Linked DNA regions of Homo sapiens: all the other regions are linked to region 3. The links are contacts of gene promoters, found by promoter capture Hi-C in human tissues and cell types (Jung and others, 2019). All regions are on one chromosome and are shown on one strand. The core of a region is centred on a gene start or on the middle of the fragment in contact, and the rest is flanking DNA. Distances in the headings are between cores, read along the strand shown. Region 1 overlaps MCC (MCC regulator of Wnt signaling pathway). Region 2 overlaps MCC (MCC regulator of Wnt signaling pathway). Region 3 holds the start of MCC (MCC regulator of Wnt signaling pathway). Region 4 overlaps MCC (MCC regulator of Wnt signaling pathway).

Evidence for each region. The method cuts DNA at HindIII sites, captures the fragments that hold promoters and counts their contacts. A contact is called where the count stands out against the background at its distance.
Region 1: a fragment that was not itself captured here is called in contact with the fragment with the promoter of MCC in region 3 in 1 of the 25 tissues and cell types used here (bladder).
Region 2: a fragment that was not itself captured here is called in contact with the fragment with the promoter of MCC in region 3 in 1 of the 25 tissues and cell types used here (mesenchymal stem cells).
Region 4: a contact is called between a fragment that was not itself captured here and the fragment with the promoter of MCC in region 3, in 1 of the 25 tissues and cell types used here (mesendoderm cells).

The regions. Positions count from the first base shown.
Region 1 is chr5:113,132,536-113,138,414 of GRCh38, forward strand. All of the region lies in intron 5 of MCC (MCC regulator of Wnt signaling pathway), which reads right to left. Among named protein-coding and RNA genes, the nearest start is that of DCP2, 160 kb to the left of the region's middle. The HindIII fragment of the contact is 5,074 bases long and covers 1,894-5,879 here.
Region 2 is chr5:113,113,894-113,119,914 of GRCh38, forward strand. All of the region lies in intron 6 of MCC (MCC regulator of Wnt signaling pathway), which reads right to left. Among named protein-coding and RNA genes, the nearest start is that of DCP2, 140 kb to the left of the region's middle. RefSeq lists an enhancer at 5,104-5,611. The HindIII fragment of the contact is 3,150 bases long and covers 1,938-5,087 here.
Region 3 is chr5:113,483,863-113,489,779 of GRCh38, forward strand. It overlaps MCC (MCC regulator of Wnt signaling pathway), which reads right to left and starts at 4,591. Exons shown (of 19, transcript NM_001085377.2): 1 at 4,383-4,591. The coding sequence starts at 4,552. RefSeq lists an enhancer at 4,490-4,784. The HindIII fragment of the contact is 5,374 bases long and covers 2,275-5,917 here.
Region 4 is chr5:113,155,994-113,162,176 of GRCh38, forward strand. All of the region lies in intron 3 of MCC (MCC regulator of Wnt signaling pathway), which reads right to left. Among named protein-coding and RNA genes, the nearest start is that of DCP2, 180 kb to the left of the region's middle. The HindIII fragment of the contact is 8,331 bases long and covers 1-6,183 here.

The sequences.
Region 1 (5,879 bases), core at 3,181-5,680, 350 kb before region 3:
GGTCATGAGGCTATAGCTGATATTTATAACTTCCCTCCACTGGGAAATCCATATTTTATTTGTTTGGCTAGCATCTCAGCTGGTTAGAATTAGTTCTTTACTTAATGAAGTAATCCAAAATCTTTATTCCTCAAGGGCCTAGCCCTTAGTGGACTGACTTGTATTTGGCCTGACTTGTATTGGGTTGTTCTAATCTGCTAACTTTTACCACTGGATAATTACTGGAAGGTATCCTAGGGATTCCCATGTGTTTCAGACATAGTACTCAGTGTCCCAATTTCCTCTTGATAGTTACTCCAGCCAGTAGAGTAACTCCCTTCTTTGCTTGTTGGCTCAGTGGCATGGGGTGTCCCAAAGGGCTAAACAGGTGGCAGTCAATGGAATCATTTTTGTATTCTCTGATGGAGAACTCCCTAAGATTTCAAACTAGCAGAGCTCAAAGTTGCAAAAATAAGAATCTATAACTTTCTTTTTTTTTTGTTTTTACTGATACCGGATAGATACGTATTTTCAGGGTACCTGTGACATTTTCATACATTTATAATGTGTAATAATCAAGTCAGGATAACTGGGATATCCATCACCTTCAACATGTATCTTTTCTTTATGCTGGGAACATTCAAATTATTCTCTAGTAGCTACTTTGAATTATAAAATATTATAGTCACTCTATTGAATTATCAAACACTAGGTCTTACTTCTTCTATCTACCTATATTTTTGTACCCATTATTCAACCTCTCTTCATCCCCCTCTCCTCCCTACCCTTCCCAGCCTCTAATAACCACCAAAATACTCTCTATCTTCATGAGATCCACTTCCTTAGCTCCCACATGAGTAAGAACATGCGATATTTGTCTTTTTGTGCTTTCTGGCTTTTTTCATGTAACATAGCAACCTCCAGTTCCATTCATGTTGCTGTGACAGGATTTCATTCTTTTTTTTTTTATAGCTGATAATATTCTATTGTGTGTATCTTCATCTATTCATCTGTTGATAGGCACTGATATTGATTTCAAATTTTGGCCATTGTGAAGTGCTGCAATAAACAAGAGAATGCAGGTATCTCTTCAATATATTGATGTCTTTTCTTTTGGATATATACCCAGTAAGGGAATTACTGGATCATATGGTAGTTCTATTTTGAGTTTTTTGAGGAATTTTCATACTGTCTTACATAGCAGTTGTAGTAATTTACATTTCTGCCAAGAGTGTATGAGACTTCCTCTTTCTTACATATCCTTGCCAGCATCCATTATTCCCTATGCTTTGGTAGAAGCCATTTTAACTGGGGAGAGAGAATATCTCATTGTGATTTTGAATACTTTTTCATTTACCTGTTGGCCATTTGTACGTCTTCTTTTGAGCAATGTCTATTCAGATCTTTCGCTAATCTTTTGCTAAAAAAAATCAGATTTGTTTTTTGTGCTACTGAGTTCCTTATATTCCTTGCCAATGGACAGTGTGCAAATATTGTCTCCCATTCTGTAGTTTGTCTTTTCACTTTCATTATTTCCATTGCTGTGTGGAAGCTTTTTAGTTTGATGTAATCCCATTTGTATAGTTTTGCTATCATTGCCTATGCTTTTGAGGTCTTACTAAAAATTCTTTGCCCAGACTCAATGTCCTAGTGCATTTCCTTAATGTTTTCTCTGAGTAGTTTGATAGTTCAGGTCTTATGTCTAGGTTTTAATCTGCTCTGATTTTTGTATATGGCGAGAGATTGGTGTCTGGTTTCATTCTTCTGCATATGGATATCCACTTTTCCCAGCACCATTTATTGAAGAGACTGTTCTTTCCCCCATTGTATGTTCTTGGTACCTCTGTCAAAAATGAGATGACTGTAGATGAGTAGATTTATTTCTGGATTCTCTATTATGTTTCATTGCTCTATGTGTCTGCTTTTGTGCCAGTACTATGCTGTTTTGGTTGCCACAGCTTTGTAGCATAATTTGAACTCAAGTAGTGTGATCCCTCCAGCTTTGTTCTTTTTGCTCAGGATTGGCTTTGGCTATTTGGGCTTTTTTTTTTTTTTTTTTTTTTTGTAGTTCTATAAACATTGTAGGATTTTTTTTTTCTTCTATTTCTGTGAAGCATGACATTGGTATTTTGATAGGGATTACATTGACTCTATAGATCACTTTGGGTAGTATTAACATTTTAACCCATTTGTGCTGGAGCCTGAAATTTTTTTGTGTGTGAAAAATCAGACGTTGGTGATGACCTTGAGCAGTAGGATATAAATAACTCCCACAAGCTTAGCGTTCCAGTAATGGAACACTAGGCATAAATAGATTAACAATATTAATTCTTCCAATCCATAAGCATGGGGATCTTTCCACTTGTTTGCATCCTCTCCAGTTTCTTTAGAGAGAATTTTGTAATTTTCCTTGTAGAGAACTTTTACTTCTTTTTTTTTTTTTTTTAAACAGAGTCTCGCTCTGTCTCCCAGCCTGGAGTGCAGTGGCCCGATCTCAGCTCACTACAACCTCCGCCTCCCGGGTTCAAGCAATTCTCCTGCCTCAGCCTCCTGAGTAGCTGACTACAGGCGTCTGCCACCACACCTGGCTAATTTTTGTATTTTTAGTGGAGACGGGGTTTCACCATATTGCCCAGGCTGGTCTTGAACTCCTGACCTTATGATCCGCCCACCTCGGCCTCCCAAGTTGCTGGGATTACAGGCGTGAGCCACTGTGCCCAGTCGGTCTTTTACTTCTTTGGTTAAATTTATTCTTAGGGGCCGGGCACAGTGGCTCACACCTGTAATCCCAGCACTTTGGGAGGCCGAGGCGGGTGGATCACAAGGTCAGGAGATCGAGACCAGCCTGGCTAACGTGGTGAAACACCGTCTCTACTAAAAATACAAAAAAAAAAATTAGCCGGGTGTGGTGGTGGGAGCCTGTAGTCCCAGCTACTCGGGAGGCTGAGGCAGGAGAATGGCGTGAACCTGGGAGGTGGAGCTTGAAGTGAACCGAGATCGTGCCACTGCACTCCAGCCTGGGTGACAGAGTGAGACTCTGTCTCAAAAAAAAAAAAAAAAAAAATTATTCTTAGGTATTTTATAATTTTTGTAGCTATTGTAAATAGGATTGCTTTCTTGATTTTGTGTTCAGATTCTTCACTGTTGGCATATATAAATGCTATTAAAACCCACCTAGATACGTAACCTACCTACTAAATTATGAGTTTCACCAATACCAACTCATCCTATATAAAATGATAGGAGAGGCTGGACGTGGTGGCTCACACCTGTAATCCCAGCACTTTGGGAGGCCAAGGTGAGCAGATCACCTGAGGCCAGGAGTTCGAGAACATCCTGGCCAATATGGTGAAACCCCATCTCTACTAAAAACACAAAAAAGTAGGCGGGCATGGTGGTGCATACCTGTAATCCTAGCTACTCAGGAGGGGGAGGCACGAGAATCACTTGAACTCAGGAGGCAGAGGTTGCAGTGAGCCCAGATTGCGCCACTGCACTCCAGCCCAGGCAACAAAGCAACACTCTGTCTCAAAAATAAATAAATAAATAAAAATTAAGTAGGAGAAAGTAAGAGGAAAAAGGGACATGCATATATACATAAAAGCAAGAATATATGCATAGCGTAGCCATTGCTTCTGATTACAGGCTATAGCTGGTTACAGGCTACAGTTGATATTTACTCCTTCCTTCTCCTACTAGGAAATCCTTATTTTCTTTAGCTAGCATCTCAGCTGGTTAGAATTCTTTATTTAATGAAGTAATCAACAATCTCTACTCCTGAAGAAGTCTGCTTTTAGACCTAGTGATGTAAACAGAGATCTGAAATAAGAAAATATAAATAAAAATAGACCTACTGATGGTACAGCTCATGGGTGCAAGACATCTTCTGATAAGATTCATACATGCATTGATATTCCTATAGGTAGAATTACTTGGTTGAGGACTTTGAGTAATCGTAGCTCTCCTGGTTTAGGAGCTGCTGTAAGAATTATATAAGAATCAAAATTTATTTATTTATTTATTTTTTACCTGCTAGGAGTGCAAGCAAGGAATCAAAATTTAAACCTTTTTAGATCTAAAATTTAGATTTTTGTAGCTATTGTAAATGGAATTGACTTATTTGATTCTCTGATTGTTATTGGTGCATAGAGATGCTAAAATGATTTTAACGTGTTGATTTTGTATCCTGTAACTTTACTGAATGTATCAGTTCTAGAAGTTTTTTGTTGGAGTATTTAGGGGTTTCTATATATAAGATCATATCATCTGTGAACAGGATAATTCTGCGAACAAGGTGAATTTGACTTCTTCCTTTCCAATTTGGATGCCCTTTATTTCTTTCTTTCCTAATTGCTCTAGCCAGGACTTCCTGTTTTACGTTGGGTAACAGTGATGAAAGTGGGCATCCCTGTCTTATTCCAGTCTTTAGAGGAAAGGCCTTCAGTTTTTCCCCCTTCACTATGATATTAGCCATGGGTTTGTCATAGGTTGCCTTTATTTTGAGATATGTGTATTAGTCTGTTCTCACACTGCTATAAAGAACTTCCCTGAGACTGGGTAACTTATAAAGGAAAGAGGTTTAATTGATTCACAGTTCAGCATGGCTGGAGAGGCCTCAGAAAACTTATAATCATGGTGGAAGGGGAAGCAGGCACCTTCTCAAGGCAGCAGGATAGAGTGTAAGCATGTGCAGGAGGAACTGTCAACCACATAGAAAACCATCAGATCTTGTCAGAATTCGTTCTTATGCTATCATAAGAATAGAATGGAAGAAACCAGTCACCTCCCTCCCTCAATATGTGGGTATTACAATTCAAGATGAGATTTGGGTGGGACACAGAGCCAAACCATATCAATATGTTCCTTTTGTATCCATTTTAGGGTTTTTATCATAAAGGGATGGTTATCAAATGCTTTTCTGTCATCTACTGAAATCATCATGTTTTTTCCTTGATTCTGTTAATGTGGTATATTGTGTTTATTTATTTGCATATGTTGAATGGTATTTGCATCCCTATGGTGAATCCCACTCGATCATGGTGAATGACCTTTTTATTGTGCTGTTGCATTTGGTTTGCTAGTATTTTGTTGAGGATTTTTACCTCTATTTTCATTAGTGATATTAGCCTGAAACTGGTGCTTTTGTTGTTGTTGTTGTTATGCCCCTGTCTGCGTTTGGTATCAGGGTAACAGAAGCAACAACTTTTTAAGTGGATTTTTAGGTGTATTCATAAGAAGGGCCACTTCCATTCTCTCAATCCACAAAACACAGCACCATATACTGTTGCTAGTTCGGAGCATTTACCACATCTCTAGGGCATTGAAAAAGGTTACCTCTCAGATGGTGCCATCACTAGGTCCACTATGATTTGGATTGAGTCCATAATGCGACTTACCACCTGACTTTCAGCAACCTGCATTGTCTGATTCTTGGCTACATTACCCTGTAGCTATAAGGGATGGGAGAGTCTTCTAGGGTAGTCACAGAAGGTCCCAGGCACTAAATTGCGTCCCAAAATTCTTTTTTTTTTTTTCTCTGTTACCCAGGCTGGAGTGCAGTGGTGCGACCTTGGCTCACTGCAACCTCCACCTCCTGGGTTCAAGTGATTCTCCTGCCTCAGCCTCCCAAGTAGTTGGGACTATAGGCACGCACCACCACGCCCAGCTAACTTTTGTATTTTTTGGTAGAGAGGGGTGTGTTGGCTAGGCTGATCTCAAACTCCTGTCCTCAAGTGATCTGCCTGCCTCAGCCTCCCAAAGTGCTGGGATTATAGGCATGAGCCACCACGCCTGGCCCACGCCAAAATTCTTATGTTGAAGCCTTAACATCCAATGTGATGGTGTTTGGAGACAGGGCCTTTGGGAGGTAATTAGGTTTAGATGAGGTCATGAGGGTGGGG
Region 2 (6,021 bases), core at 2,263-4,762, 370 kb before region 3:
ACCAAAGACATTAATAGGACAATTGGGGAAATTTGAATATGGATTGTGGACTGTCAATGCTTCATCAGTGGTAAAATTCTCAGGTGTGATGAAGGTACTGTGTTTATTATAGGAGAAGGTTCCTTCTTAAAAGGTTTACACATATGCCTTTAGGGGGTGAAGCATCATGGCATCTGCAACTTTTAAATGGCTTAGAAAAAAACGTATACACAAACACAAATGGGAGCAAGAGAGAGAAAAAAATCAAAATGTGGCGAAATGTTAACAATTGGTTGATTAAGATGAGTGGTTTATGGAGGTTTGTTTTACCTTTTCTGTAAGTTTGAAGATTTTTAAAATAAAAAGTTGAGAAAACACATACTTCAACATTCTAGGCAAGAAGGTCTCACAAGGTCTGGATATGCTGCAGTGGAGATTTAACACGGAGAGCGCAAGATGACTGATTCTCAGTGCAGCCACCAGAACTGGAGAGCTCTCCTGTAAGTGTGTCTTCCACATCCAAATGATCACCAAGTACACAGGCACAAGTTGACAGGGACAGGAGGCAGAGAAATTCTAGGCAGAAAAGGGCAAGGTCCCTGGCGAAGCCCCACCCTGAAGCCTATAACCATGGCCCAAAGTGAGAACATGCAACCTTTTTTCCCCACTGAAATGCTGCCTTTTCAAAAATCACCCATGGCCTACCCCGCCCCCCATCCTATACCCATAAAAACTCTGACCCCACTGGCAGAGAGCAGAGAAGGGAAGAAGAGGAGAAGCAGCTGGATGTCAGAAACTGTGGTTTGATGTCAGAGAGCAGCAGCTTGACTTCAGAGCGATGGCTTGACACCGTTGCTTCGGAGAGGAGTCTGGCTGGGGACAGCCAGAATCCAGGGGAAGATTACCTTCCCGTTCCATCCCCCTTCTAGCTCCCCTTCCTGCTGAGAGCCACTTTTATTGGCAATAAAATCCTCTGTATTCACCACCCTTCAATTCTTCATACGACCTGATTTTTCCTGGATGCCAAACAAGAGTTTGGGTGCCATGGGCGCAGATGCTAAAGGGTGCCACACTGACCCTCTGCCTTCAGTGGTGGAGAGCAACTGCCTCACATGAAAAGGCAGAGGGCCCACTGAGCTGCTTAACACTTAAGCTGTCCACGAACAGCAAAGCAAAAAGAGCACTGTAACACATGCCCTCTGGGGCTTTGGGGGTCACAGATCCTCCCCCCTGAGACGCTACTGTGGGGCCATCACGGAGTTTTGCTCCTGCTGGTGCTCAAAAGCACTTGTTCCGGCCCCTGCACACACTCACCTGTGTGCTCCTCCTCCCTTGAGGGGTTGAGAGCTGCAGCCTGAGTAAGCGAGGCACCCCTGTCACGAGGCCTGAGAAGGGGTCAAGAAAAATTTCCTATTTCAAAGTCAGGGTGGGTGACCTGAGAAGCGAAAGACGCCACCCCACCACATTCTGACTATAGATCTCTGTTTCTTTTCTCAAAGCAATCGAGGCTGCATTTTCAGGACTTCTATTTTAGTAAAATCTTACCAGCTGGGGATTTGTTTTCATTTTCACTGTTGTCACTTTAGATTTCTGACACAATTTGTTTCTGTGAAACAACAAACTTGGTCATAAATATGAAGGGATAAGGAAGATAACCTAACATCAACTCCAGGGAGCTGTCCTCCAGGACTGCGAGCCTCTACTGACCTTGGTGCCCATCTAGGATCCCCTGCTCTGCTCTGTTACGCACCCCCACATAACTCCTAGTCATCCACCTCCAGCCTCGGTGGCAGAAAAGTTCCGTCAGTGGTTTCTGCCAGAACTTTTCTGCCAGAAAAGTTCTGTTTCACACATATGTGAAAAGAAGTTCAAATCTACGTATAATCATTTTACTTATTTGACTATTGATCACCTGAATTGGCACAGCTTTAAAATAAGAATGATACCCAGTTTTGAAGAGGATGAGAGGAAATCTTTGGGGTAGAGAAGGGACAGCAACTGACAATATACAAGAAAAGACTTAATCATTCAATACCTTTGAGAAGTAATCTTGAAGAAATAGTTACAAGTATGTTTAGAGGATAAATTCCAACCCCTTCACTGTGCCTCCATGGCTCTCTGTCATCACTGACCACAGCCCAGCTCTCAGGCCTCACTTCTGCCCACTCTCCCCCAGGCTCACTAACCTCCAGTCCAAATGGCCCTTTCTTAGTGCCTGGGTCACCTGCGGCAGCTCCAGATCCCCTTTAGATAGGCTGTCTCCTGCCCTTGACAGCAAACAGTGGATCCTCCATTAGCACTCATCCCAGGCCCTGTGACCCTCATGCTAACAGGAGTGAGAGGATTTCCACGCCACCAGGAGGAGGGGGAAGATGTGGTTCTGGCATCCATATGTGATCTGCAAAATATTTTCTCATAGCAGCAATGTTCACAATGATGGCTGGGGATGCGGTAACAACACTAGCAAGGTCCCGAAGTTATTTCCATGACAGATTACACAGGCTTTCCAAGGCTGGTTTCAGGAGCTAACACTCCTTTATTATAATGCTGGTTTTAAGAAAAATTATGTCATGAATTTCAAATAACCAAAACCAAATCAACCTTAAAAGACATGGTCTATTTAGAAAATAAAGACTGTTTATGCTATTAATAGAAGAGAAGTTCATGAATCCCAAGAATTGTGGGAGCTCATTTTGAGTAAATGCTGTAGATTAATGCCTTTCCATTTCCATCTTATACCCCAAGTCTCTTTTGGGGACTGAAAAGTTATGGAACAGCAGAATTTGGGGAAAATATTCCAAAGTAACACAAACTGAAGTAGAACAATAACCTTTCCTGCTCTCAACCCTGGTTACTCTAAGGAAGATTCTGGAATGACTTCAGGGGGTTCTCCTCAGTCACTTAGCTCTGCTACCATTTGCAGACAGGTCTTATTTGACCAGGCTCAGATCCCTAGGAGAAAACACACAGTCACCCCAGAGAGTGCTCCAGTGAATCAATGTTCAAACTGTTAACTGGTTCTCAGGGATGATCCCTATTGTGACCCTCTCCAGAGAAATTAAGTTGCCCACATAAAGAAAAGAAAAAGGTAACAAAGGGCTTGGCCTGTTACATGAACTAGTTAGAGTACAACTTTCAGTCCGGTCTAACCCTTTCAGTCTGTGGACTAGAGGATCACTGACTATCTAGCCACCTCATTCCTAGCAAAAAGTGAGTATTCTCCAGACAGCTTGCCTTACCTGTGTAAACACATTTCTCCAGGTCTGCAAAAACTGTTTTTGGCAGAGGCAGGGCTGCCTTTCCCTGCCCCGACCCTCTCTCCTCACTCTGAGTGGCTGCTTGACACTTGTAAACATTTTTTCCTGAAGCCATTAAGCCTCATCAGCCAGTAAGCCAGGAGAATCTGGCTTTAGCATCAAACATATTTCACAGTCACAACCGCACCAAAAAACCAGGTTTCATGTGGAAATTCTTCCTTGGTTGTCCTCCAAAACCTATTCACACAGAGGAAAAATCTAAGTGATCACACCAGAAAGCAAGGTATTCTATGCATAGGACACCTTGCGGGTATAAGAGTAGATTTCAACCCTAAGGGTATAAACCTCAACCCTCAGGGTATAATGGTTTGATATTTCAACCTTGAGGGTATAATAGTTTGATATTGCTAAATTCCAGAAAAATAAAAATTTCTCACCCAAAATCAGAAGAGATCTCAAAATAACAGAATGCTTCACTGGCTGTGCAAAGGCCCATACCATCAGGGATTTTGTTTGTTTTGGAAACAGTTGCTCCAGAAAAGCACTGCTGTTGCGTTAACAGAGGTGGGGAAAATGGTCCACAGGAAAGGACAGCAAACATGCTGTAACATGCAGGATGCAATGAGTCTGTGTGCACACATCTGTGCTCTGCTCTATTGCAATACCCAGAATCATTGGGTCCAAGAGTGTTGTTTCTATTTTAATATGAAGGGCCGCAAAATCTGATTGCAAATGCTTCACTATTAAGCCAGGTGCTTGTGATCACACAGCTGCTCCCTAATTCCCCCATCAGCCCTAGAGACCTCAAAGGACTGCAGTAAGCAAATGACATCAACCACTGGCATGTCTTCCTGTTTAAACCGAGGAGTATCAAAGGAAAGCCATCTATAGAAACACAGGCGGCAACAACAAAAACAACTTCTTGGCTGTGTGGCCTTGGACAAGTGACTTACCCTCTCCAAACTTCATTATCCTGATTTTACAGATGAAGAGACCTCCAGGGCATCCTTCCAGGTTGGGGATTAAACATGAGGGATGCATGTAAATGCTTGACACAGGGTAAGTGAGCAAAGCATGTTAGTTGGTATACCCACCCTCTCTTTTAACGGCGAGCCTTTGCCAGATGGAGGACATAAAAATTCTAAGCAATAACTCCTACCTTGGCTTTGTCCACTTAATTACCTTTATTTTCTGAACAATGTGTGACGAGGTTTGATAAGAGGTAATTTTTTTAAAAAAAACATGCAGTGTGACAGAGGCTGGCACCTTTCTCCTTTATTTGACTGCTTAGTAAGTCAAAGCACTTTTTAATTGGATCGTTTATTCCTCCAGGCTTGGAAGACAGTGTCCAGGAACCAGCCTACTGAAGGGGCAGCTGGACTCTGATGGGTGGTTATGAAAACAAAAGAAAAGTGCTTTTTGATGAAGCTGATAGGCTGGACTTAGTCCTGTTATCTTTGGAGATCGGCAAATACACTGCAGCAAATTCTGCAGCTCAAGAAAACCTCTGGGTTGCTAATGCAGGTTTGCAAATATAGCAACTATAATGAAATGGCTACTTTTAAATGATTTCCTATAATGGTGCTTACATATGGAAGCTTTTTTCCTGTTGAAAAAATTTAATTGGAAAATGGCGAAGGAATAAGAAGAGGGAGACAGCCAGTTCCGATGAACAAACACACTGACGGCACTGTGTGAGCAGCTTTAATGAACTCCTCCTTGTTGTGCCCAAGTGTTTGTCCTCCTGGGGGATCTGGCAGAGCTGCCCCTGCCCGGTGCACCCTCCTCCTCATGGGCTCCGACCCCACTCAGTTCCCAGATTCCTGCTCGGCTGTGACCTCTGGCAAGCATTCTTCCATGCTCCTCCCCGAGGTTATCACCAGGGCCACTGCAGGCCTGCTATGGAGTCCTAACTGCACTGTGAGGTCTTCCCTGTGGACCTGTCTGCATCCTCCAAACAACTGTGAGCTTTGGGATGGGGTTCTTTCACTGCTGCTCAAGTATTTGAGTATCTCCTACGTGCAGGAACTGCTATGCTGGTAAATTAGGCAGGTGAAGTCCCTGCCCGCGTGGAGCCTGCACTCTGGCATGACAGCCAGATAAAGCTTGATAACACACAAGGAAATGAGCACAAACACAATCCATCCTCAGGGAGTGCTCCATGTTATGAAAGAAAATGAAGCAGGGAAAGGGAAGCAAGTGGCTGCCTGAGAGTGAGGGATGAGGCATGACTCTAGAGGGGAGGGCGGGGGGCCTTGGTGGAGACAGCTGCCGAGGAAGGAGGGCTCCAGGCGGAAGGAACAGCCAGCACAGAGCCCCGGGCAGGAGAAGCAGCTCAGGCTGGAGGAACAGCAAGCCAGGAGGCCAGAGTGGCTGCAGCTGGAAGAAAAACAGGACAAATGGCCAAGGAGGCGGCCAGAAGCAGGGACCGCCCTGTTGGCTGCGTGCTGAGGAAGCTAGAAGTCACTCTAGGCTTGAAGGATTTGAGGGTGGGAGCACAATGACCTGACAGCAGATTCTGTCTTTCATCCCCAGTACCTAGCACAGCCCCAAGTGAGTTTGCTGACTAAATGAAAAAAAAAAAGCTTCTATGTGTGGGCAGAGAACATGTGTCAACACTGGGCAGGGAAGGTCACTCCCCTCCAGGAACTCAGTCTTCTCAGGAAAGAGGCTACCACCAGTTATAATTAACCCATGTATTTTTAAATGAGGGACGGAATGAAAAGAATGGTTTGGGAAAATGAGGATGCCCCATGGCGCAGATAGGTGGACACTGCCTTCTGTG
Region 3 (5,917 bases), core at 3,341-5,840:
TAAAAAAAAAACTAGATCGCGTCCTTTGCAAGGACATGGATGGGACTGGAGGCCATTACCCTTAGCAAACTAACACAAGAACAGAAAACCAAATATCACATGGTCTCACATATAAGCGGGAGCTAAATGGTGAGAACACATGGACACATAGAGGGGAACAACACGCACTGGGGCCTATCAGAGGGTGGAAGTTGGAAGGAGGGGGAGGATCAGGAAAAATAACTAATGGGTACTAGGCTTAGCACCCATAACTAGTCGGCACTAGGCTTAGTATCCATAACTATAGTGGGCACTAGGCTTAGTACCCATAACTAATGGGTACTAGGCATGGGTGATGAAATAATCTGTACAACAAACCCCCACGACACAAGTTTACCTATGGAAAAAATCTGCACATGTACCCTTGAATTTAAAATAAAAGTTAAAAATATACATATTTAAAATATTACATAAATATGGAAAATATCTGAAAATGAAAATGTTTGAAACATTTTCCAATATACATGAACATACCACTGTTTATTCTTGGTCACATTTTCATCAGAATTTGCTGATTGTGTGCTACATGGTAGATACTGTGCTAAGTACTGAGTACACTGTTTTTGAGAAAACAGATATGATTTCTGCCCTCAGGAAGCCTACATTTAGTGACAGAATGACAATAAACAGGCAAAGTAGCAAACAGAAATGGAATTATAAGTTGTAAAGGGCACTTTGAAAGAAAGCAATCAGTACTATGATGGACAATAACGGCAGGATAAAGCAAATCTATTTTGATATAGTGGTCAGGGAAGCTCTCTCTAAGGCATCAACATTTGAGCTGAGACTTGGGAACTCAAAAATGTTAAGCACTGGCTTTCAATATTTGTCAAAGGTATGTTCAACATAAGCAGTTTCTTATATTGAACGGTAAAAACAAAAAGCTTTAAAATTCCAAAGGGAAAATAATTTCAACAAATAGAGTAACCTCCACCACCTTCTATAATATGGTATGCAGGGTCCAAAAAATCCAGTACCATAAAATATGTGGTAAAGTCATTGTAAGGTTAATGAAATGCACTGAAAGAGCTTACGGTGGTCTCACTCTGCTGCCCAAATCCAGCGGGGTCCCAGCCGCAGTTTGGAGCTACTTGATCATAGCTTTCTGTTCTACCTTAACTATTGATGGGGATGATTCTGGGTCCCTTTTATAGGCTAAAGTTCCTTGGCAGAAGCAGCAATTCCAAGAATCTAGTTAGCTGATGCCTTTTTTGTCAGCCTGATAGGAAGACTGGGCCAAGAGAATATTGAAAGCACAAAGCACCACCCCTTACCTCCCTGACATTTCCCCTCACGGCCCAGTTTCTCTTCCACTTATCCTTCCCCCACACTTAAGATTTCCAGCCTACTCCTGTTTAGAATGAGGGTTCAGCGGAGGACCAGAGCAAATATACTTGAATGTGGATTATCATGGGATGGGGGGTTTATTATAGGTATTAACCGCTACTTGCCCACCCAATATCTATTTCCTGCTCTTAGTAACAGAACCCAGATTTTGTTTAGGAGGTAATGTGCCTAGTTGAATTATATGCTTCCTCGGACTCTACTGAAGTAGGCATGGTTAAGTGATGTAGTTTGACCAATAAGATGTCAATTAAGGGATTTGGGAAAGCTCTGCTTTAATGATACAGGCACAACTTATTTCCACTTCCTTTTACATCTTCTTCCCTAGAATTTGGGGATGAAGAGGGAGACAGGGCAATCACCTTTGGACTATGAGATAACCATGAGGATGAATGCTTTATGTGAAAAATGGTGTTGGAGAAAGGTAGAAGGTAGCTGGGGACTGACACCACCGCAGAGCTGCTGCCCCAACCTAGATAGCCTACCTCCAGATTTCTACTAGGTGACAAAGCCAACCCTTACTTGACTATGGTTAGGTTACTGTGATGACATATAGTCATCTGAAATTCTAACAGATACAGCTGTCTACCAGGAACATAAATTTAACGTCTTTAGATGAATCCAAAGTTTTTAAGGTTTTAATGTTAAAAAGTCCAACTCTCATGTCTGATAGAACAGGAATGCACAACCCTCCAAACCACATCACCCACTACAGAGTGGTAAGTACAGGTCATTAAATGAAAGCAGCACAGAAAAGTGGCTTCAGAGAGGGAATCATTTAATGCCCCTTACCTTCATTAGCCCCATTCCCCAAGTCTTACCACATAAACGTAAATTCCAGGTAAAACTGTGCTTACCAGGTAAACACACTTCCAGACAAGTTCCTTGTTGCCCTAGATTGCCATCCCTAAACTTCTCCTACATGGCAATTCTGCCACAGCATAATTTTCAGGGCAGCTCCACCCACAGTTAAAGTTATGATTTAGGGTTCATTACTACACATACCTTGAAACTTTTAAGCAGACACATTAAAGTAATGCAGCTCAAGGAATGTTAACAACTTTTTCCACTTTTGCCCCAGCCAGTTTCTACTCTAATCCAAAACGGCTTCTTTATCACCACCCACTTTACTCAAATTACGCTTACAGAATTCATTATCCTCCCGGGTAGAATCACCGAAAATAATGTGAGCATTTATATAGAAAGTGTAGTTCAGATAAAGCAATATATTAATAGGCCAAATTAGAAAAGGATAGCACGCTGCTAGTTTTCTGTATGCACTCTTGCCCGTGTGAAATTAAACTTTTTTGCATCCATGCGGGGAGCGGTGGCTCAGGCCTGTAATCTCAGCGCTTCCTAAGGCCGAGGCGGGCGGATCACTTAGGGTCAGGAATTCGAGACCAGCCTGGCCAAATTGTGAAGCCCCTTCTCTACTAAAAATACGAAAATTAGCCGGGAGTGGTAGTGGGCACCTGTAATCCCAGCTACTCGGGAAGCTGAGGCAGGAGAATCTCTTGAACCAGGAGGCGGAGGTTGCAGTGAGCCAAGACCACGCCACTGTACTCCAGCCTGGGTGATAGAGCGAGATTCTGTCTAAAAAAAAAAAAAATTGTATCCAAAGTTGGAGTTTGCCTTTATTATTGCAAATGAGATAATAACCTTTCAAGTAGGAAAACAACAAAAAGGAAAACTATATAATGAAATTTCTTTTACTCCCAGAACCAAAATAACGAGACTTCCAGATAGAAATTTGCATGGAGTCAATCAGAATTACATATTATTTTCATTTCCGAACAGAATTACTCCATCAAGTTTTCTGATATCTTCCTAATGTTTCTCAGTAAAACTTTAGCAAAGTAATAAAAATTCACCTAAGAATGATCAAAATTGCGTTGAGTCCCAAATAAATAATTTTTTTTATTTTAAGGGAAAAATTCCGCACTTTGCTTTCTTTTTTTTTTTTTTAGGTAGGCAGGGACAATCAGGAAGCAGCCCCGGATTTTCAGAAACGATCTTTAGCATCACCAAGACATAGACTAAAGAAACATGTAATGCACAACTTAGGCTGCTCCTTCATCCAAGGCAATTCAAATTTCCACGGATACCAAGTCTTCAATGGCCGGTGTCAACCATTCAATAGAAGCATACCAGAAAATGTTGCGATTGCCTTCTTCACCACAAGAGTCTAAGTGACACAAATTTGGGCAGAAGTAATTATTTGGCCAAGCCGGGAGGCAGGAAGCTTAAATACCGCCTCTGTAGGAAGTGCGGGGGATCCGAAGCAAACACCCCAAAGTTTGTTTGTGAGTGGAGGCGCGGAGGCGCCCGGAGCCACGCCGAAGCTCACCTGGTCAGCGCACAGAGCCGGGTAGGAGTCGGGTCTAGCCCTAGTTTGCTCCTGAGCGCTTCGTTCCTCTCAGGCTACTGCGTTTAAATCAATACTGGGTGGCAAACGATACCCATTCTTTGGGCTCTGAAGTTTGGAATTCATGGGTTCTGCGGCACAAGAAAGTTTCTTCACAGGTTATTTCCCTGTCCGAGGCTGTCGCTTAGCTCATCTCCTCCCGGTGCGGCCCTGGGGTGTCCACCAAGCCGCCGGGCAGATCGCTGCCCCGTGCTGCGGCATCTTGATGCCCAGGACCCCGAGGCTGTGGGGCAGCCCCTCCTACCTGGGACAAGCGGCCAGAACTCCTTTTCCCACAGGGAAGAACACTCCAAGCCCCCGGAAGAGTGCGCATCCTAAGGAGATGTCTCCCAACGCCTAGACAAAGACAGCGCTGGGAAAAGTTGGACCAACTGGCACCCCCGCAAGGCGAACAGAGCAGTCCCCTCGGCCTTCGTGGCCGAGCCGGCTACGCGCTCTCGGAGTCGCGGCCAACTTTTCCCGCGAGCTTCTGAGCAACTTGCCGCAAGTTGGGGCGAGGGGGCAGAGCAGGGGTCAAGGGCGCGCGGAGGGACTGATCTCGCTCCTGTCGGTTTCCTCGTACCTCCCCGCGTACCTGCTGATGTATCCGTCCCCGTCGCCGTCGCACGTCTGGAAGAGGCGCCGCATCCTCTCCTCCTCGCCGGTGCTGGACGTGTCGCTGCTGCTGCTGCTGCTGCCGCTGCCGCCGCCGCCGCCGCCGCTGCTGGAGCTCCCCGCAGCCGCTGCCGCCGCGGCCGCCATCATGCGCCCGCTCCCTACTTGGGAGGAGGAGTACGCGCGACCGCAGCTGGAATCCGCGCGGCGCGCAAGCTGCCTGCAGCCCCGAACTTGCCTGACAACGGAGCATGCCCAGTGGCCGCCGGGGCGCTCCGGGCGAGGGATTCCACCTCTCCGGGTTTTGCCCGGACTGGGAAGATGGGCGCTCTGGAATCGCCCGAGGAGGCACCTCAGGGAAGAGGGAGGAGGGGAAGGTGGCTGGAAGAGTCAGGGAGCTAAGGGTGGCAACGGGAACACAAGAGGAGGCAGAATACACTGGAAGCCCCCGGGAAGGGTGTCAGCATTGTGCATCCGGCAACGACGCGGGCCCGGGACACTTGGGGACGCTTCAGGCAGAGGGCAGGTGTACTCCCGGCAGACCTTCTCCGACCGCCCGGAGTCATGGCTTCCTTTTCCAGAGAAGCTATATAAACACTCTCCTTCTGCAAACTCAAAACGGTGCTTGTAATCCCACTCTCCAGGATTGTTCCGGGTTCTGTACCCATAGCCACCAATGAGAACCGGAATGACTGGCCTTTTTATGAAATTTTGACACCTGTCAAGAAACCTGGCCCTCGCAGCCCTCATCTTGGCTCCCACTCTGTACTGGGAAGAGTCTGCACGCTGTGTGGCATTGTGTACGTTGGGTCAATTTCTGGAAACGGCTCACTCTACTGGCCAGGCATCACTAGAATTTCCCCCAACAGCTTTAATAATGCCAAGAGCGAACATAATAGATGGTCTCATTTGATCCACACTACAGACCTGGAAGATGCCTCTTTTATTATCAATCCTACGACTTAGGAAGTATTAATAGATAAGTACCTCATAGAGTTATCTTACATATAAAAGGAGAGCAGACATAATGCAGTTAGGACAATGTCTGACACCTAGTAAGTGCTCAACAACTGTTAGCTCTCATTGTTCCCAATTTACAGGTAAGAAAACTGAGGTACCAAGACCTGCTCAAGGTTCCAGGTTTAGTAAGTGTTAGGGCAGAGGCAAGCCCGGGCAGCCTAACTCCAGAGCAGGAGCCTTTAAACACTGCACTATTCCCCCATAGCCAAAGGGAAACCACAGTGAAGCAATTTGTGGTTTCGTGAATGACTCATTATTCTGTCCTGGATTTTCTGCCAGAGAGGCGTGTGAAGTTCTCTGGTGGTTTTAAAATATGTCCACAGATTCTTTGGTGCACCCCTCATCAAGAGGTGGAGTCTGTTGCTTCCCCTAAACCTGGATTGGACTTGTGACTGCCTTGACTTCTGAGACTAGGTTAGAAAAGGCAATGCAGATTGCACTTGGCTCTCTCCCTTGGGACACTTACCTTTGAAGCCTTGAGCTGCCTGAAAAGAA
Region 4 (6,183 bases), core at 1,471-3,970, 330 kb before region 3:
TCCTTTCATCCATCCTTGCTGTTTGGTATCTTATGTGATGGATGGAGCTCTAGCAGCCATCTTGTGCTACAAAGCTGAGACTCTAGGGAGCAGAAAGGTGCCTCAGTCCCTAGCAACTTTGTGGAGCCACCCCACCAGTTTTGGACCACCTAACCCCAGACTTCTGTTACAGAACTGCAAGAAATAAACCTCTGTTATACAAAGCGCTATGAAGTTGAGAGTTTCTGGCAAATGAAGCTGATCTAATCCTAATTCACAGAATCAGATAAAGCTGGGTTCAAATCTTATCTATGCCACTTGTTGGTGGACTGTCTTTGCACAATTTAATCCCTTTTGTTGTAGGGCTGTGTCAAGACAAATGATGGCATCCAGAAAGTGACTAGCAGGGTGGCTGGAACCAGGTAAGCACTCAACAAACGGGTTTGTTTGAAGTCAACAACCTTCTCAGGCAGACCAAGCCCCATCAGAGGTGCTAGGGACACTCAGACTAGGAAAACAGTCCTGTCCTGGAGAAGCGTTATCACCTGGTAGATAGCACAGGACTAAGAAGCCAATAGCTGCGTTGCCAGATTCTGCTGAAATCCTAAGGCTTAAGGAGCTGACAGCCAGGGCTCTTAGTTCTCTGTGAAATTTTAACATGAGGCCTAAACGAGGTTGGATAGAACCCTGACACTTTGTATACAAATCTGGATCTAGTGCATGAAGGATATAGATCCACACATTCCTCACATTTCTGGAGATAAAAGGCCCTAATTCCCTAGGCTGTTTTGAGCCCTGCTTCACATTCATTTTACAGTGTGTATCCAAACGAAACTAAACCACCTGGACATTTGGCTGCAAGCTAACTGTCAAAATGGTTATTTTTGGATAAAACATAACTTGAGTAAAATAATTTCACTGTTCAACTGACTCTAAGGACAAGCCCTCTTAGCCTCTGAGAGGAAAGGTGTCCAGCCCCCCTGAGCCCAGGTAAGAAGTGAGCAGTGCCCTCATGACAGACTCTCCCAGGGGTATCTCCTTTGCTAAGTGAATAGATGTCTATTCCGTTACATATCTGCTGTGTGACAAAAGGCTTCACACTTCATAAGGTGCCCTTGAACTCTGCAGTCCAATGACTCTGATGAGAGCCCCTCCAGGAGTGTCACTGCGTATTTCTGGTTATTAGGTGCTTCTGCATTTTGCTAACCCTGGCAATAAACACAGCAGACATGCCTACACTACCCAGTGCACACACCACTCTCCAGGCACCATCTCCTCTGACCTTCATCACGCCAGGACTCTGTGGCCTAAGGGCAAGCTATGCTTCCCGATTTGCTGAGGGACAACTATTTTTCCCATGAAACACAGTTGGTAAAAAGGAATACGATTTGAATAAAATGGTGGAGAACCTAGATTCATCTTTGTGGGACTTCAGTCTGTGCTTTGAACAGCACAGTCTTCAAAGGGCCCAAAGGCACCTGCAGCCACAGGTGAGGCAGAGGAATGAGTTCATCCCCACAGGCCCTATCTAGATACATGCACCTCATGCTGCTGAGGCACCTCATGGTGCTGAGGGCTGGGCCAGTCTTCCCGGCTTTGTTGGGAAGTGAGTTCATCTGGGGTAAACTGTGCTTGTTCTCTTTCTCCTTAACTTGGTCTGGCTACTTGAAGTGCTAGTTTAACACTCACTGCCAGCGTGCATCTATTGCCTTCCCACTGAGTAATGACAGGAGTTACAGTGGTCTCCCCCTTAATGGAGGGAGGTCTGCTCCAACACCTGCAGTGGACGCCTGAAACCTCAGTTGGTACTGAACTCTATATACACTGTTTTTTCCTATACATACAAAGCTATGATAAAGTTTAATTCATAGTCAGAGATTCAAAATAATTAATAGAACAGACCAATTATTAACAATATGCCAGCACTGCTACTCTTATGCTTCGGGCCATTATGATGTAAAATAAGGATGACGTGAACACAAGCACTGTGATGCCATGGCATTTGATGTGATAACCCAGCTGGCTAATGGGTGGGGAGCACAGACAGTGCAGATATGCTGGACAAAGGAAGGAGCCCTTCCCCAGGTCGGACAAAGCAGCCCAGCACGCAAATGCATCAGCCTACTCAAAACAGCTTGCAATTTCAAACCTGCCAATTGTTTATTTTTGGAATTTTCCACTTAACATTTTCAGACTGCAGTTGACTGCAAGTAAATGACACTATGGGTAAGGGGGGACTACTGTACTATTCTGTCTTTCTAGCTGAGCCACTTGCTTTCCAGATACAAAGTATGCACAATTTTTGCTTATGTTTTAGTGATGACAATGGGTAGTGCCAACTTCTCTCATCCAGTGACAATGGGTAGTGCCAACTTCTCTCATTAAAGGACACTTAATTTCACTGAACTTAATTTCATTGAATACATATTTTTGGCAGGTTCCGCACTGCATGCTTCATACACTTTACCTGTTCCATCAGCTGCAGAGGAAAGGCAGTGTCAAATCCCAATGCCAAAATCTGCGAATATTCTTGAGAATTCCAGGTCACCAGGCAGTAATAATGAAAGTAATAATATTAATAGTTACCGTTTGCTGAATATTTATTGGTATCAGGGGCTTGGGCTAGGCACATTACATGCCATATCTTATTTAACCATCACCACAATGCTGTGAGATATATGTTATTACCTCCTTCTGGCAAACGAGGAAACCAAGGCACAGAAGAGGGGTAGAAAATCAGCCGAAGTGAAGAAAACTAATAAATATTAGGTTGGTGCAAAAGTAATTGCAATGGCAAAAACTGCAATTACTTTTTCCAACCTAACAGTACCGGAGATAATAACACACAAGGACCCTATGCTCAAATCTTCTCCACTATGTGCATCACTGGCACCTCCAACTCAACATACCACGGCTCTCCCTTGCCCGAGGGATGCGTAAACCTGCTTGTGTCCATGTATGTGTGTGTGGAGGGGTGGATGTGGGGCGGGGGTGAGGTGTGTGCACAGGCAGGGCTGAAGACATGGGAGAAGCAGGGTCAGGGTTTTCGTGATGGCAGCACCCATGTGATTTTGGGTGGGAGCGAGAAGGGTGGCAGGGCAAGTCCTCCAATGCTGTGATGAAGCGTGGGGCTCAGCTTGGTATAAATGTGGGTGATTCTCTTTGTCCTTTCTGTGCTTTTTTGTCCTCTGTAGAAGGGTTTGTATCGGATTACCTCTAAGATTCTTCTGGTTTTAAACTTGTAACATGCTTGCCTGGCATGTTCACCTGTCCAGGCACCTGAGTTCTGCACTATGGGCTTTGCATACTTTATTTGTCCACTGGTCCCAGAAAAATCTGCTGAAGCTCAAATATTTAAGGAAGCTTCACTCTATACAGAACTGTTCACCCAAGATCTTTTCCCTAAAAATGGAATGAGTTTTCAGAATCACACATCGTCTTACCACTGGCAAGGGAATTTGAGAACATCTAGTCCAATTCCTTCATTGTAGAGAAATGAAACTGAGACTCAGAGAGGTTCAAGGTTCATCAAATTCAGATTTCCTGGTTCCCTGTCCAGAGGCTACCTCTCTCCCAATGGCAATCCAAGAGCTCGTGGGTAGTCAATAAAATATGTATGTCCCAGCTATCCTTGGAGACAGCAAGAAACATCTGCACATGAAAAAGCCTCATTCAGCTTCCCATCCAAGACTCCACACCCAGGTGTTCTAATTCAGATACATACAGAACAAAATGCCTGGCAAAAGGGTAGTGTTCCCTGCTAGATGGATACCATCAGGCCTGTTCAGTGACTTCTAGGACTGGAACATTCCTCTTTACTACCGGAATTCCAGCTAGGGGCACCTGCTATGTAGTATTTCAAGAAATGCTGCTCATAGTCTTGAAAGTTAAAACTCATTAAATATAATCTAAATTATAAATTAAAGATGTCTCACTGCATGGAAATCACTTTTGTGTGCCCTAGATCAACTCAGAAAGCAGCAGCTTTTCATCTTTCCTTTTACCTGATAATTTCATTGAGAGGTCAGTGGCCCCTGAATTATTTCTTAAACCTCAGCTGAAATTCAGTTGCTCAAAACAGCATTCAAAGGCTCCTTCAACACCGCAGCAGTGGGACACCATTTATACAAGAAAGATTAACCCTACCCAAGGATGGCTGATATAGGGAACAGTGCCAGATCACAAAGCAGGCCCAGGTACTCACTGTGAAAGCTGTCATACTGGTCCCTAGGACCCACTTAAAGCCACACCTCCCCTTCTTCAAATAAATGGTTAGGAAATGGCTCCCAAGGGGGAGAGGTGTCTGAGACTGACAATCAGCTTTAAAGATGACCCACAATCCCATCCCATCTGTAAACATATGCTCCCCTGAAAATATGTCCCATCGTAATTTTTACTGGCTAACACAACTGCTTGCTATGTGCTAGATTGCTATACTCAGCATATAACATGCATTTTTCTCAACTATTCTTCACATAGCTTTATGAGATGGGTAGTGCTGTTATCTCCAATTTAAAGAGGTAGGAATTGAGACTTAGAGGTTAAGTAACTTGTCAAGCTAGTAAGTAACAGAGCCAGAATGAAAGCCCAGGTCTGTCTAACCCCAGGGTCTTGTTCATAACTACCAAGTCCCCTGCTTTGCAACAGAATATCATAGCACTTCTGAGATCCTTGCAAATACCCACGAAACTGTTGAGAAGAAAGATCTCAGAGGGTTATTCTGTTAAGAGAAGAAAGCAGAATTAGCACAATTAGCATGGGGGATAGACAGGTATTCATTCTTTAAAACTTTAAACATTTTGAGAAATAGAAGACCATTCAGCTGGTATCAGACCCAGGAAGGAATCCGTGAAAAATTAATCTCCAGCTATTCCTACATTCTATGTGGGAAAGTTAAAGAGGACAAAATTGTAGTATAGGTAAAACAAGCCCTTACAAACACCTAACTTTGCTGCTTAAAGACTACAGAAAAGGAAAGGTTATTACCTTCAACTGATGTGATCTTTAAAAATTAAAAATCTAAACAGAAGAATATTTTATATATTTTGTAAAAATTTCCTATACAAATATTGTAAGACAATAGTAGCTATTAAAAATAAGTTATTATTTTCCACTAAAAAATCCTAACTTGTAGTAATATTTATTTTCAAGGGAAACGAAAATTATGTGGTTATACAAGGGTTTTTGGAAAGAAACACAGACAAAATAAAGACACTGCACTAAGCTGGCTGCACCAACTTAAATTTCAAGGGGGCTGCATCCTAATGACACATCATGGAGGAGATGAAGATGTAACAATTAAATCCAGCTAATCAGGGGACATGAATATTTCAGTGCACGCTAAATACTGATGTGATTCCCCAGGCGGAAACTCCCACAGAGAATTCTATGAACATGAATAAAAGGGTTCTCTGACAAGGTCTGAATTGTTCATAAATTTTTATATTGATCCAATTTAGCAGGTATTGAATTCCCCATTCTAGAGAAACCAAGTACCTTTAGTGGTGAAACAGTCAATAAACTCCACAGATCAGGAAAGGCCAAAGTATTTTTACAGCAATGGTTGAAGTGCTTTGAAGAGACCCTAGATTTTAATGGATTAAGGACAATACTTTTTGTTTGGGAAAGCAAATGGAGGTTTAGATTTATGTGTGTGTGTGTGTGTGTGTGTGTGTGTGTGTGTGTGTGTGTGTGTGTGTCTACACATACCCATACACACAGACATGCAATTACCAACATATACACATACAGAGTATATATAAAACTCAAGGCACATGCTTCCAGACTTCTAATTAAAGTGTAAGAGTTATCCAAGATGTCAGCTATTTAGATATTCAATACAATCATTTTTAAATGCATTCCCATCTTTTAAAAGATACTTTAATATGCATTATTTCATTTAAAGAAAATCAGTTTTAAAATGCTTGATGCCACGGCATGCTCCGTTTCAGGGAAGGCCCAGGCAGGCCCTGGCTTGTCTTGCCTCACCACAGGGCTGCTGACGGATGGGCCATTTACCGTTTGCTGGTACATCTAATCCAAAGCACCAGGAGAGGAGGAGACACATTTCAAATCTGCTTCGTGTTCCCTCTCTGATGGGGCCCTGCTGACTGCTTCAGAGAACAGTGTGTTTAGATAGAAAGAAGGAATGGCTTTTAGGTCTGAATCTTCTTTCCTTTCCAATCACTCTAACCCAGCCAACAA